Linked DNA regions of Homo sapiens: all the other regions are linked to region 5. Evidence: promoter capture Hi-C in 16 types of primary human blood cells and fetal thymus (Javierre and others, 2016). All regions are on one chromosome and are shown on one strand. Each heading gives the region's core, a stretch centred on a gene start or on the middle of the fragment in contact. The rest is flanking DNA. Distances are from core to core; before and after follow the strand shown.

Region 1 (3,472 bases), core at 720-3,219, 620 kb after region 5:
TGTTTGTACTGGATAATTTTTATTCTTTATAGAGTACCCCAAGTGCTTTGTTATGAAGTCACTGTTCTATGAAAATAAAAATTTAATCATGTAGGCTATGAAAAATTGTTTTGGGGTCATAGATGATGTAGTTAAGTTTCACTTCACTTATTAAATATTTATTGAGCTTATTTCAGATAAATCAGCATATCCACCAGATTCTATCTGTATTGACTTAATTTATTGGAAATCCTGGGATAAAAGTGTAGTAATACACCCTTCTAAATATTTGTTATTTGGGTGGTAGAATTAAAAACAATGCAGTCTTAGTGAATATATTTGTTAATATAGTGCTTAATGTCTTGGGATTCATTTTGTTAACTACAGTGGAACATAGGTCTGCATGATATATGTCAGTAGTATATAATTCAGAATCTTTTCAAGCTTTAAGTCATTTGGGGTTTTTAGCAGTTATCTTTTTTATTACATGTCCGTTGGAAGTATAAAATAGAACCATCCATTCTGTTTGTTCTTGGAAATTATTTTTCATATATACATTTCTCATTTTATTTGTTTCTGCCTGCATTTTAGTCGTGAGATGGAGAATAAAGAAACTCTCAAAGGGTTGCACAAGATGGATGATCGTCCAGAGGAACGAATGATCAGGGAGAAACTGAAGGCAACCTGTATGCCAGCCTGGAAGCACGAATGGTTGGAAAGGAGAAATAGGCGAGGGCCTGTGGTAAGTGGCTATGGGTTACCAGTTATAAGGAAGAAAGCATAGGAGGAAATGGAAAAGTAAGCATAAATAGATCCTCTTGTAAGCTTTTCTTCTTCATTTTAAATGTAGTAGTTTTCTTTACTTGATATTGTGGTCATTTGGAAGAAACCATAATTAAAACTGTGCTCATTAAACAACTTAAACTATTCTGGGAACTTAACTGTTGTGTTTGGTGGAGGGGTAAATGCTTAAACCAAGACTGCCCTCTCATGTCAGTATCTAAAATCCTTTCATTGGAGTTTTATACTGTACTTGTAAATTTTAAAAAGAATTTTTCCAGTTTATTTTAGATGTTTTATCTCTAAGACAGGATCCAAGGATCTTAATTTCAGAAATCTTCTAGGAAAGAAAACATTTAATTGCAGTAATTCATAAGTGTAATGATTGGGTTTTCACATGCATGCATAAGATGTGCGTTTCTCCAACTTTGTTACAGTGTCAGCATGTTATCCTCATTTGACATGAAAAAATGTTTAATAGACCTATGGGGATTAAGATAAATTAAAAATGTGTGGGGTTTGATGAAAGAAAATCTAGAGTCCTAGATTTTAAAAAGCAGGGATACTCTGTCCTTTGCTATAGGTATAAGAATATATATTCTTATAAGAATACCATCATGAAATGTGTGTCTTCATTCTTACAAAGGAAGAAGTATTACAGTATCCTAGCACTAATCTCTCTCAGCAAGTTTTTATTTTGTTCTTTTAAAACAGATATGGCAACTTAAAATTCATCTAAGCTTTGACAAGGGTCTAAATACACCCCTGCCAAGTGATTGTCTGCCCTACATTCATCCCATATGCCTATTTAAGTTTACATTTAAATTAATTAGATGTAAATAAAAGTAAAAATTTAGTTCCTCAGTCTCACCAACTACATTTCAAATGCTCAGTAACCACATGTGGCCAATGGCTACCTTTTAGGCAGTGCAGTTTTAGCACATTTTCACTGCCTCAGAAAGCTCTCTTAGATGTGTAGTACTGACTCGTGTCTGACTTAAATAACTCAATAATCCCTGTGGCTTTCGATATCCTCATCACTGAGCTGCAGTCTGTCAGGAATATTTTACCCACTGGTTCTCATTCTAACCGATGGAATTATACAGAATAAATCTAATTGTTCCTTTCCATACCAGCACTTGGTAAGTTATTATGGGCCCGTGAGTCCTTGTCTTTACAGCTAAGTTTCTACATTTCTTCCATTTATTACTCACGTGAGGTGGTATGGTGGGAACCCCTCACCATTTTAGCTATTCGTGCCAGAAGGTGAATATGAAGAAATTAAGGATTTATCTTAGAGAAGAGAAAGTGCTATTGAAACATCTTGTAGAATGTTGGCAGTTAAAAGGGCATATTACTACTCAATCAATATAAAGAACTTTTGAACAAGCAGAGCCATCTGAAGTTTGAATGTGCTGCTTTCTGAGCTCCTTTAGATGGAGGTGTTCAAACAGCCTAAATCTTTTGAGAATACCGTAGGGCATAAATCACAACTTTTTAAAAATGAGCCAGCTATTTGTTCTTTATTATACATGAACTAAGAATATCCAGTTCTCTAAAACAAAATTTTGGTTTTTATACTGTTCACTTTCTAGCAAGTACCAAAGTACCTTGTCTGTATATAAGACATGAGTGAAGAGGGAGGAGATGTGTGGAATAAGATGCATAACACATAGTCCTTAAGCTTAATTATGCCACCCTACATTTTATGATTTACGGATTTCGTATTATCCTTAGGAAGTTTACTGTTTACTTGGGAGGTCTGATTTTGTTTGTTTTTATACTTTAAGTAAGTTGTGTCAAATCATTCTTGAAACATAAAGGGTAAATATCTCCAAATGGGAAAATTAGACTTATACATAATAAATAGAGTAATACATGAAATATCACAAAGCAACTTGTGACTAGGTGCCAAATGTGTGGGATGGGCAGAAGAGCAATAGGGACTTAGGAAAGAGAAGGAATGTCTTGCTGGTAGACTTCAGGGAAGTTTCATAAAAGGAAGAATTTTAACTCAGCGTAGAAAGATGGGTAAATTTTCCTCATGTGAAGGTGTACTGCCTGGGGTGCTGCAGGCTGGAGATGAGTATTAAAATAGGAGGAGAGTGAGTGAAAGCACAGGAGGAGGAAGGGTCAGGCAAGTTTGGTGAACACAGCAACTGGCTATAGAACAGGAGCAGTGGGAGAAAGTCCAGAAAGGTCTGCTGAGCTTCAGTTGTACAAAGCTGTGGAGTTTGGCCTTTGGTCATGGCTAGATTAGGTCTGAAAGCCTTAATTAAAAAAAAAAAAAAAAAAAGGCAGGTCTTGTAAACTGCATTTCTGCTTGAGAAATTGATCTTTAAACTTCTAGTCTCTTTTGGTTTTCTGAGATACACATCTAACCTATTATTGTAATATAACATTGTAAAGAAACACACACACAAAGCAGGGAAAATGATTGCATAGTGATCAAACTATTTGAAATTATGCCCAGTGTTGTTTCAAGGTCCTACATTTTGTAAAAACAAATAAAAACGTACCTAGATCTTTGATCTAGTAGTTGAATAAGTTGACTGTAGAAGTTATGAGTGCTTATTTTTCACATTTGTTTAATCACCTTTGATTGTTGCTTTTGAGTGTTAAATGAGTTAGGGTATATAATAACAAATAATACCATTTCTACAGTTTTGTATGCATTACAAAATTGTAAGGGAGGAGGTTGCGTTTTAACTAG
Region 2 (3,552 bases), core at 645-3,144, 610 kb after region 5:
CTCCAAGGGGACCCTAGAGCTTCAGTTAATGAGGTGAACCCTACAGAGTACTGACACCAGGAAATATGCCTAAGGAAAACTAGATAAACTAGGGTTTTATTTTTATTTTTTGCTTCTTCTGTATGCTAGGCAAACTCACATTTTATTAGCTGTCAGTCTGTTTTCATTTTTCAGTTTAAAAGTTTTCAGGTTGATAACTTTGGTCCGGTATCAGTCAGAGTGATGATGAATTGAGTCAAAGCTGTTGTTTTAAAAAGAATATTCATATGCATGCCTATGAAAAAGAGCTGTCTTGTTTTAAAATGGAGTAATACAATTTGTGTTACAAGTACAGTTCTTTGCCCCATTTCCATTCAAATTGTCATTTATATCTGAAATCATTAAAATTAGAAAACAGTTATGATGAATGTCTTTTGAAGCATATAGCAGGAAAAGTCATAAGTCAAAACCTGCCAGTTTAAAGTAAATGCAATTATTTGGTTCTATGAAATTGTAGCTTTTGCTATAGTGAAAAGAAATTGGCATATTTATGAACAACTCCAGGATCTCATTGAAATGAGGAAGACATTATTTAGGAAGACAGTAATGATTCAGACTATATTTAGGACAGGATGTTAGAGTTAATGTGCCTTCTCTTTCAAGTGATTAGTGGGCAGATGACATCTTTGGTATTAATGATTGCCTGAGTTAACATTTTTAAGGAAAGAGTGCCACCTACTGAATGAAGAGCTTTTGTTTTCTTCCATTCAATTCGAAGAATCTTGTTTCACTTTGAATCCTTAGTGGGTGGCATTTGCTGGGCAGTGATCCCGTCTTCCAGTGGATTGACTAGGGTAGCTAGGATTCTTAGAGGGAGTTTATGCCCCCAAAACCAGGTGTAGAAACAAAACCTAAGCATAAACATGATTCAGCACTTGGCAAGTCTCAAAACCTTACCATCATGTTAATGTACTCACTGGCCCAGAAGGTTTTTTGTTTTGTTTTGTTTTGAGCTAGGAGCAAATGGCTGGGAGGAAATGAACTATTCCAAAAAATAATTGAAGGGGATTGAAGAGCATATGACATTGGTCGAGATCTTCTGGGGAGACTTCGTTTTCCTAGGGAATAATATTAGTGCAGAGATTGCTTGATCACAACTTGGCCATAGGTCAGTGGAGGGATTCCTGAGGTCAAGTTGCGAATCCAAAGGCCTACTTCAGAGTAATCCATATGGTGCTCTTTTTGTAGTTCCTAACAATAGTATCTCATTAGTGAAAGGTTGAGTACATGAACAGCAGCAAACACACCAGTATCCGAATTAAAGGACATCATTTGAGAATTTCGCATAGTCATTATTTTTAGTATATTGGGACATTTTTGATGTTGTGGCTTAATTGACTACTAGGCATCAGCCATCTCCAGCTTTTTCCACTTGTCGATTGGATTATGCAAGTCATGAGTGGTATTTAAAAGAGGTGGACTGTATGCTAAATTGATTTATCCTTGCTTATGTGTACAGATTAATGGTATAATCCATGAGGGGTGATAGATTAAGATCCTGAAGTGAAAAAATACATATATAGTGTCAGGTATATTAACCAATGGTTAGTTGCCTTTTATTTTTCCAGTGTAAAGTATAGCAGATCCTTCAATAATGTCATTTAGTTGAACATTTTGGACAATTTTGCTAAAAAGTTGATGAGGATAAAAATCTCTTCTGGCAGAGGCTACTGTCTGTATGGAGTTTGCATACTCCCCCCATCTCTGGGTGGATTTTCTCTCAGTACTCTGGTTTCCCCCTGACACCCCAAAGATGTGCACGTTAGGTTCATTGTCATGTCTGCAAGGACCCAGACTGAGAGAATGTGGGTGTTTGTTAATGCACCCTGCAACGGGATGACATCCTACCCAGGGCTAGTTCAAGTCTGGCACCCTGAATTGTTGGGACAGGCTCTGGCCACCTGTGACCCTGAACTGGAATAAGTGGGTAAATAATCATCTTATTAATGTTTCTTAAATGTATGTTACAGCTCACATTTTTTCAGTGTTTAGTGTTAGAAGTGTTTGGGGTCTCTAGAAGTTTGGTGATGTTTTTGTGACCAGAAATATGCCATAGAAACTTTCCCACTTGTTTACATCAATTGGCCTATGGTAAAGTTGGTTTTAAAGTCAAAGTTTCTCTTATTGTGTAACTTGCCATTGACATCTACTCATGTTACTTAAATAAGCGTTTTGTTTGTTTGTTTGTTTTTTGTTTTTTTGAGATGGAGCCTTGCTCTGTCACCCAGGCCGGAGTACAGTGCCCTGATCTCGGCTCACTGCAACCTCCGCCTCCCAAGTTCAAACGATTCTCCTGCCTCAGCCTCCCAGTTAGCCGGGATTACAGGCACATGCCACCACACCTGGCTAATTTTTGTATTTTTAGTAGAGGCAGGGTTTCACCATGTTGGCCAGGCTGGTCTTGAACTCCAGACTTGAGGTGTTCTACCCGCCTCGGCCTCCTAAAGTGCTGGGATTACAGGCATGAGCCACTGCGTCCAGCCAAATAATGAGTATTAATTGGCTGAATAGCAAGTATTCTCTGAAAACATTATTTAATAATACAAAACTTGTAAATATTTTAGCAATAACTGTGTTTTCAGATTTGCACTCAGAAAACTAGTATGACTTTTAATATTGTATCCCAGCTTTTCTCCTTTTAAAAAACAGAAAACCCTAACTTCTGTAACTTGACTGAGATTAAGCGTATCTGATACCATTATTCCAGATTATGAGAAAAGTCAGCTGTGTGGCTACAGAGAGCTCTGGCCTGAAGTAGTTATTAATAGAATTCACATTGGGACGTAAAAACAACTGGAACTGAAACTTGGTCTGAGAGCCGCCATGTTTCATGTCTCATTTCAGGCTACTACTTTGCATCTTTTTGACTTACAGCACTTAAATATGCAAATGCAAAATTGTTAAGGTTTTTTTTTTTTTTTTTTAAAGATGGAGTCTTGTTCTGTCTGTCACCCAGGCTGGAGTGCAGTGGCACGTTCTCAGCTCACTGTAACCTCCGCTTCCCGAGTTCAAGCGATTCTCCTGCCTCAGCCTCCTGAGTAGCTGGGATTACAGGCATGCACCACCACGCCCAGCTAATTTGTGTGTGTGTTTAGTAGAGATGGGGTTTTGCCATATTGGCTGGGCAAGGTGTTTCACACCTGTAATCCCAGCCCTTTGGGAGGCCAAGGCAGGCAGATCATCTGAGGTCAAAATTGTTAAGCCTTTTAAGGAAGAGAAATGTATGGCTTATTGATTTAAAAAAAAAAAAAACTAGACAGGTTAATATTTTTCATGTAAAACGATCTTAAAATCTTTGTGCTCTCTACTTTCTCGAATGTTCTGCTTGACAGTTGTCTGAACTTTCTGAGAGCTTTGATAGAGTCTTATACATAATACGTGCCTCTCTTAGTAATAAAGTTTGAATTGCTATGATAGTGAATATTGGAGGAGTCTAAAAGTTCGTAACAGTATGTCACCCATACTGATATACTGCCTGAGTTAGTACAAGGGGTCTGCAGATCCACTTAGCTA
Region 3 (3,461 bases), core at 741-3,240, 640 kb after region 5:
GAAGAGTGTAGAAGAAATAGAGAACCTTTAATATGTCCCCTTTGTAGATCTAAGTGGAGATCTCATGATTTCTACAGGTAATAATTTTGAAATGATACGGATATGTTTAATTTTTAAAAATTTCTCAGTGTGGTTTGTCTTAATTTTTTTAAAGCAAGTTTTGTTATTTTTCATTTTAGCCACGAGTTGTCAAGTCCTGTGGATTCCCCTTCTTCCCTCAGAGCTGCACAGCAGCAAACCGTACAGCAGCAGCCTTTGGCTGGATCACGAAGGAATCAAGAGAGCAATTTTAACCTTACTCATTATGGAACTCAGCAAATCCCTCCTGCTTACAAAGATTTAGCTGAGCCATGGATTCAGGTAAGTAGTTCTTTGTTTTTCATTTCTCAAAGAAATATTTATAGATCAATTAATGTATTTGTCTCCTTCCCTCAGTTGTTCATAATTTAAAAAAACACTTTTACTTGCCTCCATCATGACCTTCATTCCACTGGAAATTTTAATGTTACTTTTGGTATTAATACTATACTGCTTATTGTACAGCTTCAACTTCAAAACTTCTTGTGGTTTCACTTCACATATCTAGAAACATCTCTTCCTGAACTAACGGACATACGGGGTTATTCAAGGATAGAAGGATAGAAACCAGAACCCTTCAATGCTAACTTTTCCCAATGTTTAATCCCCGTGCCTGCCAAGAATTTTTATCATGTTTCTTATTTGCTGCCATTTAAAATTAATTTCTCTTTTCATATCCTAATGGCATACAATGGGTGCTTAATAATTGCAGAGGAGATGAATAAGAAAAAAATATGTGATGGTTACCTTGAGTTCATCATTTTTATTTGTAAGAACAGTTTCCCATCCCTTTACCATCTCTTCTGATTGAATGTTTTTTCATCCTCAGTAAGTAGGGCTTTTTTGTCAGTTGGTTTGTAATGATTTTCTTGGTTGTTGAATGCTCAGTCTATTATTTTTTAAATGTAGGATCTAAAACCAGACGGGTCTCCAGTAGACAATAATAAAGTAAAATAATTATTTTCAATAATCTGTTAAATTCTGTTGAATTAAATTTGTGAACAGGTGCATTAACACATTGAGCTTATATATCATTAGGATTTGTTACATTTTTCTTTTGTGACCATTACAGTCCTGCAGCTTTGGAATTCTCTTAGCATATTAGCAACCCATTTATGAATCTAATAAAATCTGCAAAAATATTAAACACATTCTTGTACCTAGTTCATTAATGAAATTTAATGAACTATTAATGAACATAGGCCCTCACCTGCCCTTTCATGACCCATCAAAGAACTCTCAAGTTGATTCTGAGCTGTTAGAGTTCATTCTTTCAAGCATATGGTCTAGTTTGTTTTGCCTAAGCTTTAGGTCAGACTAGGCTCTACATTCCTAGCTTTTTATTAAGCATGTTAGGTAAGACAGTTAAAACATAGGTAGTGGTACACTACTTAACAGTACCAGAAGCTCACTATATTCTAGTTGGTTCATTCTCCCATAATATCCCTTTATAACAAAACATATGTAAATAAGTATGTTATGATCTGTTTTTCAAAAGTTGTGTTTATTCATCTTTAATATTTAGGCATTTTTCACATAATGAATTATCTTAGGTATTAAGCTTACTTTTAGCTAATTGGCCCATAATGTCAAGACCATTCACCCTTTCCTCACTGTAGGGACTCTGGCTTTTGGGGCATGGTATTGACGACGATAACAGCATATACTATAATTCTACGTCTACATTTATCCTTTGCTTACTCGAACACAAGCATTTTTTCTTCAGTTGTTTGATTTGTCCACTCCATTCGTTTTACAGTCCTACCTGTTTTGTCTAGTTTTTTAAACCTTTTTATACAGACAAAAACCAATTAAATGTGTTTTGCTTATTGCTCTTGTCTGTAAGAGAAATACTCTATATCTCTTGAAACCTTCTCCTGGTGCTTTTTTTGATTTGTTTTTTGTTTGTTTGTTTGTTTTCTTAATCTTGCTCCAGTTTTTCTCTTTAAACTACCTTAATATGAATACAGAGTTGAGGTTTTCACAGTTTTTTGGCGTTTTGGTAAGCATGTGGGACAGTAGAGGCATAGAATGTATGTATAGCCATCTAGTGACTTAATGGAGCTTATTATTAATTTTACCTGAGCTAATAAATATTAATGACTTTGGATAATTATCAGTTAAACTTGAGTATAAAATTCTTCCTTATGATGCTTAAGTGGCTGGATATATTTGAAGTTGTGAAGGATGGTAAAGATTTCAGAAATGTCCAGTTTTTACGTAGTAATCAAAAATGATGCTAAACTCAAAATGCTCTGGGTCCATAAGCTTTTCTTTACATTGAATTCATCGTGTGTGTTTGATACAGGTGTTTGGAATGGAACTCGTTGGCTGCTTATTTTCTAGAAACTGGAATGTGAGAGAGATGGCCCTCAGGCGTCTTTCCCATGATGTCAGTGGGGCCCTGCTGTTGGCAAATGGGGAGAGCACTGGAAATTCTGGGGGCAGCAGTGGAAGCAGCCCGAGTGGGGGAGCCACCAGTGGGTCTTCCCAGACCAGTATCTCAGGAGATGTGGTGGAGGCATGCTGCAGCGTTCTGTCAATGGTCTGTGCTGACCCTGTCTACAAAGTGTACGTTGCTGCTTTAGTAAGTAGCTTTATTCCATAATCATATCATTATGGGTTTGGGGTTTTTTGATGGTTCGTAGATAGTGTTTTTAAGATACAATAAAGCTACTTTACCTAATTTTGGAAAATCCAAATTTTATTTTTATTCCATAATTCCAGGAAATTACAGCTTTTGTTTTGTTTATTTGAATTTTACTGATTTTTATGATGTCCAAGGTTTCTTATATAACTGTTTTACTTTTTAGTTTCATTGTTTTAAAGGCTTTGCAGGGGTATCCAAGGGAGAGAATATAGTCATGGTTTCTTAGTTTCTGTTTGGGCCAGTAAAGCTCCTTCCTCATCCTCCTTTTCCACTTACCACTAGAGACAGACTAAAAACCATGGCTTCAGGCTGCTAAAGCCTAAAACAAAACAAAACAAAACAGAACAACAACAAATAGGGTGAGCTAGACAAGCTTGCTAATTTTTAAAGATTTTTTTAATGTCTTGCTGTTCATATCTGTACATTTTTCTGAGCAGATACCTTATACATGACCAAATTAAAAATGCTTTTTGGGATGGCAGAGTCATCAACGTTATTCTGATTTTTTAAAAAATTTATCAGATATTAAGGAAGATATGTTTTTAATAAACATTTTGATTGATTTTTAATAAACATTGTCATGTGGAGATTCAAAAGCCTTTTCAAAGAAAAGGGTTCCATGACATAGATCATTGAGTTGTTTTCCAGTTTAACCTGTTAAAAGTTCTTTCATGGGTGGAATAGAGTGACAAGGAGGTAATTTAGGAGACTAACTGGACTTTCTCCATTCTGC
Region 4 (3,563 bases), core at 809-3,308, 900 kb after region 5:
TTATTTATTTGAGACAGAGTTTTACTCTTGTCACCCTGGCTGGGGTGCAGTGTACAATTTCAGCTCACTGCAACCTCCGCTTCCCAGGTTCAAGCAATTCTTCTGCCTCAGCCTCCTGAGTATATGGGGTTACAGGCATGCGCCACCATGCCTGGTTAATTTTGTATTTTTCGTAGAGACAGGTTTCACCATGTTGGTCAGACTGGTCTCGAACTCCTGACCTCAGGTGATCTGCCCGCCTCGAGTTCCCAAAGTGCTGGGATTACAGGCATGAGCCACCTCGCCCAGCCCCTCATTTTTTTTTTTTTAATCTCATGTTGGTATTTTGGATCTTGCTCAAGTTTTCCTCCTGATTCACAAACATTGTCCCCTGCATTTTCTATTAATATTATTTTAGTAGATAGTAGAATCCATTTTGAGTCCCCTTTACACACGATAAAAAGAGAGTTCAAGCTTGATTTTTCTCTGTAAAACTGTAAGCCAGGTTTATCATGCCACCTAAGAAACAATCCATCCTTTTGTTATTGTTTTGTGGTGCTACCTTTATCAAATATCAAGGCTCGCTCCTGTAATACCAACGCTTTGGGAGGCTGAGGCAGGAGGATCACTGGAGGTCAGGAGTTCAAGACCAGACTGGGCAAAATAGCAGGACGCCCGTCTCTAGAAACAAACAACCAACCAAACAACCAAAACAAATGTTTTAATTTAATCACACTTGTTTCTCTCAGGAATAAAACAATTATTAATCATATCATGCATGTCAGAATGTCTTCAGATCTGTATCAAGCCCCTAGAATGCTTGCCTACTTAAGTCCTTTACACATGGATTATTTATTTATTTATTTATTTATTTTCGAGACAGAGTTTCACTCTTGTCCCTCAGGCTGGAGTGCAATGGTGAGATCTTGGTTCACTGCAACCTCTGCCTCCCGGGTTCAAGCAATTCTCCTGCCTCAGCCTCGAGAGTAGCTAGGATTACAGGTGCACGCCACCACGCCCAGCTAATTTTTGTATTTTTAGTAGAGACGGGGTTTCACCATGTTGGCCAAGCTGGTCTTGAACTCCTGACCTCAGGTGATCTGCCGGCCTCAGCCTCCCAAAGTGCTGGGATTACAGGCGTCAGCCGCCACACCCGGCCCTTTTCACATGGATTTTTCAGGCTTGGGGGTTTCTTCCTTGCCCATTCTTCAGACCGTACGATACAAGTGCCCAGAATATGGGGGACCTTTATCAGGTACCCTAGTTATTGTATGGAGTTGGTTGACAAGCCTCATTTTGCAGGAACTTGTGTCTACTCTTCCATTCGCTAGATCTGAATTCTTAGTATGCCTCATTTTCCATGAACTGGATTATTTCAGGTTTTTGGTCTCCAGCCTAAAACTGCTGTTACTGCTGATACTTGCTCTCCAAATGTTAATCCCCTCCCTAGGAAGCTCCACATCCCTCCCAGTTTGTCTTCTCTCTGAGGTCCCTGTTAAATTTCTCTCACTCTATCTGCCTGTGCAAAAATGAGATAAAAATGAAATTTTCAACCATAATGTCCATCAAAGGAGGGTAGAGCCTGGTAAATAAAAGCCTTTTTGTTCTACTGAACATTTGGATGTGTTTGGATATGCAAAACGGGGGCCAGATCTTAGCCTGGAAGTAGACAGCAGTGAGAACTGCTGTGTTCTGTGTAAAGAATAAGAATTTGCATTTGGGGGCTGCAGTTCAGGAAGGAGAGGGTACTGAAATGATACAAGACCCAGGAGAGAAGAGAAACAATCTAGCCAGGGTGTTACTAAATACCTATATGAGTCAGAAGCCAATAGAAAAATTCCCTGGGGCCGGGTACGGTGGCTCACGCCTGTAATCCCAGTACTTTAGGAGGCCGAGGCGGGCGGATCACGAGGTCAGGAGATGGAGACCATCCTGGCTAACACGGTGAAACCCCATCTCTACTAAAAAATACAAAAAATTAGCCAGGCGAGGTGGCGGGTGCCTGTAGTCCCAGCTACTCGGGAGGCTGAGGCAGGAGAATGGCGTGAACCTGTGAGATTCCGCCACTGCACTCCAGCCTGGGTGACAGAGCGAGACTCCGTCTCGAAAAAAAAAAAAAAAAAAAAAGAAAAGAAAAGAAAAAGAAAAATTCCTTGGAAAAGAACTTTTAAGAAGTATCTAGTATTTGGCTGGGAGCGGTGGCTCATGCCTGTAATCCCAGAACTTTGGGAGGCCGAGGCAGGCAGATCACCTGAGATCAGGAGTTCAAGACCAGCCTGGCCAACATGGGGAAACCCTACAGACTAAAAATACAAAAATTAACTGGGCGTGGTGGTACGCGCCTGTAGTTGCAGCTACTCAGGAAGCTGAGGCAGGAGAATCGCTTGAAGTCGGGAGGCAGAAGTTGCAGTGAGCTGAGATCGCACCACCGCATTCCAGCCTGGGTGACAGGACAAGACTCTGTCTCAAAAAAAAAAGAAGTATCTAGTATTCAAGTGGAAGGGTTCATGTTGTTGAGCTGTGAATACCCATACCTCATTCATTTTCACTCCCAAAATTTTCATCAAAGTCTGATAAAAAACAAAAATGTACTGGGTGCAGTGGCTCACACCTGTTAAATCCCCAAACTTTGGGAGGCTGAGGTGGGAGGATCACTTGAGGCCAGGAGTTGAAGACCAGCTTGGGCAACATGATGAGACCTTGTCTCTAGAAAAAAAAATGTTAAAAAATTAGCTGAGCATGATGGCATGTGTCTGTGGTAGCAGCTACTTGGGAGGCTGAGGTGGGAGGATCAATTGAGCCTAAGAAGTTGAGGCTGCAGTGAGCCATGATCTTGCCACTGCACTCCAGCCTGGGCAACAGAGCAAGAACCTGTCTCAAAAAACAAAAGCAAAAATACCTCATGTTGGCTGGGCAAAGCGGCTCATGCCTGTAATCTCAGCACTTTGGGAGGCTGAGGTGGTTGGATCACATGAGGTCAGGAGTTTGAGACCAGCCTGATCAATATGGTGAAACCCCGTCTCTACTAAAAATACAAAAATTTGTGGTGATGTGCGCCTGTAGTCCCAGCTACTCAGTAGGCTGAGACAGGATAATTGCTTGAATCTGGGAGGCAGAGGTTGCAGTGAGCAGAGATTGTGCTATTTGCACTTCTAGCCTGAGCGACACAGCAAGACTCCGTCTAAAAAAAAAAAAACAAACTTCATGTTAACAGATAATAACATCTGTGGAGGTGGGTGTGGGGTGGGAGGTGAGCAGTGGAGTGAGTAGTGGTATTATAAGTATGTATCAATTGAAACAGGTAATGAAATTAACCAATGGATCCGCATGGTGCAGAATGGAACAGCTGTGTCAGAAATAAGGTGACAATCTATTAACTGACCCTGCTTAGTGGAAGCCAGAAGCAGAGAAAGTCAAGGAGAAGGAGGAGGAGGAAGAAAAATGAAGAGGTGAAAATAGCTAATACTTACAAGGCATGCCAGGATTTGTTCTAAATGCTTTGTTTATACATATAAAGGTGACCATGAGAACGTCATACCTTCCCCAACATCTACCTCCTCCCTCCCAGAGAGTCACAGAAATCT
Region 5 (3,306 bases), core at 508-3,007:
GGTGGGCACAGCTGTGACAACGCCTTTCTCTATGCTGTTCAGATCCAAACACGGTATGAGCCGGCACGTTCTGAAGGCGCGCACACACACACACACACACACACACACACACACACACACACACATACACATACACAAACACTATTCCAAATGAGCTAAGACCTGGAGAACACACTATACACATATATACATTAGCTAACTCAGGAATCTAAATATAAATTTATTTTTGGAGAAACCCCCTGGGCTAAAATAATTCACCCACAAAGCCAGATGTAGCTTGAGGGGTAATAAACATGCTATGGCCTAGAGCAGGAAAAGGGAAAAAAGAATGAAGCAGTACATTTTCTTAATGAGGCTTTTTCAAACCACCATTTCATGTTGTAGCCAAAACAGATAAAATCACCAAAGGAACTTAGGATCTTGAAGAATATTCAGAGACTGTAGAAAGTGGTTTAAATAATAGATATTTAAGAAAAGATTCTAAAAAATATTTATTATGTTTATAAAATGGAAATTTCATGTTTATACTAAAAAAAGATTTACTATTACACATAAGTATTACACGAAGATGTATATAAACACATTGCATATGCAAAATGTATACACATAGACCACATGGCCAAATATGTGATATTATAAGGATAAGTTGATCTCACAGCAACATTTTGATGTGGAAAATTACCTCCACTCCAGAAATTATAAGTAAGGAAGATATACCCTGGCATTGCAAATAATAGCATAGGGATATGTCATTACACAACCTTGGATGAGATAACATATCAACCCGACATAAATACAGGCAACATCTATTCCTGAAAGGAATAAAAAAATGCTTACGAAGATACAGCAATGAGATACTGGGCTAATCGAATGACAAAAAAAATGTGATGTGTTCTTACATTGCTTACCCTAATTTTTAAAAAAGATTTGGAAAAAACAGAATAAAGATGACACTATCTGAAATAGTTGGTGTGCTTGAAATCCAGTTTTTAAAATTTGAAGGTAGGAATACTTCAACAAGATCATAAGCTTATACAACAGATCATAAGCTTATTTTTCTGTTTCAGATGCTTATCAAACTAGAAGTGAACATTTTGAACAGGTTTGTTTTCTAGGTGAAATCCTCTTTCCACATCCTACATAGCAAATACTCATGCACACCCACGCACATGAACACACACACACACACACACACACTTCTCTTTCTCTCCTTACAACTGTAAATCCATACCATGAGACTAAGGATGCTAACAACCAAAGAATGTGTTAAAGCAGCATTTTACCTCTTTGCTGATCAAACACAGAAGGGGTGCTGAAATCCATGGTAGCCTGTCTCATCATTTACCATCAGAATGGCAAAAAGCATCCAGGTCTCTAGAGAGGAGAAAACACCATCTCAAACCTTACTGTCAACATGACAGTCAGAGGCAGCATCGTTTGCCAAGACCTCTGTTTCAGGATTAAATGTGCATCAGAGCTGCAGGTTGTTGTCAAGGCAAGGTGATGAAAATAGGTAAATGCTATTCCTGTAAATACCTGCTAGGAAAAGAGTTACTCTATGGCCTCATTCATCAGCTGTACATGGGCATAATACACCCTCCACCCCCAAATCAATAAACACAATTACTCAAACTCCAAAAAGATAGTAAAATTGTATGGGCCACCTGCCTTGGATCTGGGCTGGAAAAACACAGCAGATCACGGAGCTTCAGCAGCTGGAATGTCGCTTTACACCAACAGAAATCTGAATGGGTGAGTGAGGATTCACAGGGCCAGACAGAGCATGTGCAAAGCTGCCAATGCAGTTCGCATTCGGCTGTGCTTTTGGCGGAGTGAGAACTGCATTTGGGTCATGTGAGCAGAGAGTGCCATCTCAATGGAATAGGATGTAAATATTGTAGCAGGAGGCTGCTGGCCATGTGCTGTGTGGAGTAATTATCCATGTTGGCAGTCTTCTTCACTCCCCTTTCAGCTCCGTTCTCCAATTGACAGGGAGGATGGGGAAAGGCGTCATTTGAAAGGTGACATTTCAAGGCTCGAGTGTCTGTGGTGATAAAATTAAAACAGTCTGCTGTCACAAGGGTGTTTATTGTAGCATTACATGTAGTAAAACCTGAAAAATCACCCGAATGTACCTCATTCAGGGAGCAGCTAAGTAAATGGTAGTAAATTCGTACTCTAGATTTAAAAATCTGACATAAATAAATCTGTGTATTTATCTGGTGACATGTCACTAATCTATTGTTAAATGAAATAAACAAGTTATATATTTCATTTGTTCGTGTTTTAATAAAACCGGAAACCACTCACTGTATACATTATTTTTATATATTCAGACGAACACTGAAAAAGATGTAGAAAGATACGTACTAAACTGCTAATATTGGTTCCCTCAGGCCACTGTGATTAGAGTAGGAGATTTCTAACTTGTTCTGTATCAATCTCTGTATTTTTGGCTTGTTAATAACCAGTATCTATTATCTTGTATTTGTAATAAAAATATGATATACTAAATTCAAACAAAGTTCTATATTCTAGGCACAACCAGATTTTTGGATAAGTCAAATAGCCATATAGTAGATGCTTGTTGAATCTAATAATAAACACCAGCTTCCTTTGCCCTTGGATAGGATGATTCTGAGGCATGGTGTTTTACTCCGTTTGCCATTTCCCTTTCAGGATTAAACTCCTTCAGGGTTAAACTCCACTGCCACCTGTGAGAATAGGTCTAATAACGTTCTTTTTATGGGCTGCTGTTCCCTCCCTGTATTACTTTCCCACGTTCCTACTGATATTTCCTGCACTTCTCAATAAGTTACTTGCATTGGAATCATTGTCTCAGGGTCTGCTTTTACGGAAACCCAAATTAAAATATTTCTCCACAAGAGGGTACATTTCATAAGGGCAGGGTCTTTGTCTACTCTTTCTTTGTCTGCTTTGTCCACTCCATGTCCTTACAGCCTAGCACAGAGAGGGGCACAAAGGAGGTGCTCAGTACATTTCAGTGCATGAGTGAAACTTCACTGAAGAACTTTCCTTGCTCAAGCTGACAACCTGCTCACTGACATTGTAACATTGGAACCCAATTAACCATCCTTCATGGGGTAAGAACTTTCTGACAAGAACTTCTGTAGTCCTTGAAATTTTCTAGTCTAAACAAGAAACCATGTACTTGAGGATTGGTTCTAGGGTTTCTGGAATTGGCTCTCAAATCTGATTAAATTTAAGGATTCTAATAGCTTTATTTCTAGGAGTAAAGAGAGCATTGATAGTCCATGGTGTGAAGTGGTAATAGAGATATGCAAA

The links. The method cuts DNA at HindIII sites, captures the fragments that hold promoters and counts their contacts. A CHiCAGO score of 5 or more calls a contact.
Region 1: a contact is called between a fragment that was not itself captured here and the fragment with the promoter of ANKRD55 in region 5, in 3 of 17 cell types (total CD8 T cells, naive CD8 T cells and naive B cells). The highest score is 5.7, in total CD8 T cells.
Region 2: a contact is called between a fragment that was not itself captured here and the fragment with the promoter of ANKRD55 in region 5, in 3 of 17 cell types (total CD8 T cells, naive CD4 T cells and total CD4 T cells). The highest score is 6.4, in total CD8 T cells.
Region 3: a contact is called between a fragment that was not itself captured here and the fragment with the promoter of ANKRD55 in region 5, in 1 of 17 cell types (naive CD4 T cells). The highest score is 5.4, in naive CD4 T cells.
Region 4: a fragment that was not itself captured here is called in contact with the fragment with the promoter of ANKRD55 in region 5 in 1 of 17 cell types (neutrophils); the score reaches 5.3 in neutrophils.

What each region holds. Positions count from the first base shown.
Region 1 is chr5:56,856,030-56,859,501 of GRCh38, forward strand. MAP3K1 (mitogen-activated protein kinase kinase kinase 1) reads left to right here. Exons shown (of 20, transcript NM_005921.2): 2 at 571-721. It also overlaps the pseudogene LOC124901214. Among named protein-coding and RNA genes, the nearest start is that of MAP3K1, 42 kb to the left of the region's middle. The HindIII fragment of the contact is 944 bases long and covers 1,498-2,441 here.
Region 2 is chr5:56,837,926-56,841,477 of GRCh38, forward strand. The region is part of intron 1 of MAP3K1 (mitogen-activated protein kinase kinase kinase 1); the gene reads left to right. Among named protein-coding and RNA genes, the nearest start is that of MAP3K1, 24 kb to the left of the region's middle. The HindIII fragment of the contact is 4,132 bases long and covers 1-3,552 here.
Region 3 is chr5:56,872,646-56,876,106 of GRCh38, forward strand. MAP3K1 (mitogen-activated protein kinase kinase kinase 1) reads left to right here. Exons shown (of 20, transcript NM_005921.2): 8 at 1-77; 9 at 180-360; 10 at 2,387-2,665. Among named protein-coding and RNA genes, the nearest start is that of SETD9, 35 kb to the right of the region's middle. The HindIII fragment of the contact is 707 bases long and covers 1,638-2,344 here.
Region 4 is chr5:57,134,023-57,137,585 of GRCh38, forward strand. No RefSeq gene overlaps it. Among named protein-coding and RNA genes, the nearest start is that of GPBP1, 38 kb to the right of the region's middle. The HindIII fragment of the contact is 3,215 bases long and covers 452-3,563 here.
Region 5 is chr5:56,231,573-56,234,878 of GRCh38, forward strand. It overlaps ANKRD55 (ankyrin repeat domain 55), which reads right to left and starts at 1,758. Exons shown (of 12, transcript NM_024669.3): 1 at 1,669-1,758; 2 at 1,284-1,374. The coding sequence starts at 1,341. The HindIII fragment of the contact is 3,640 bases long and covers 1,048-3,306 here.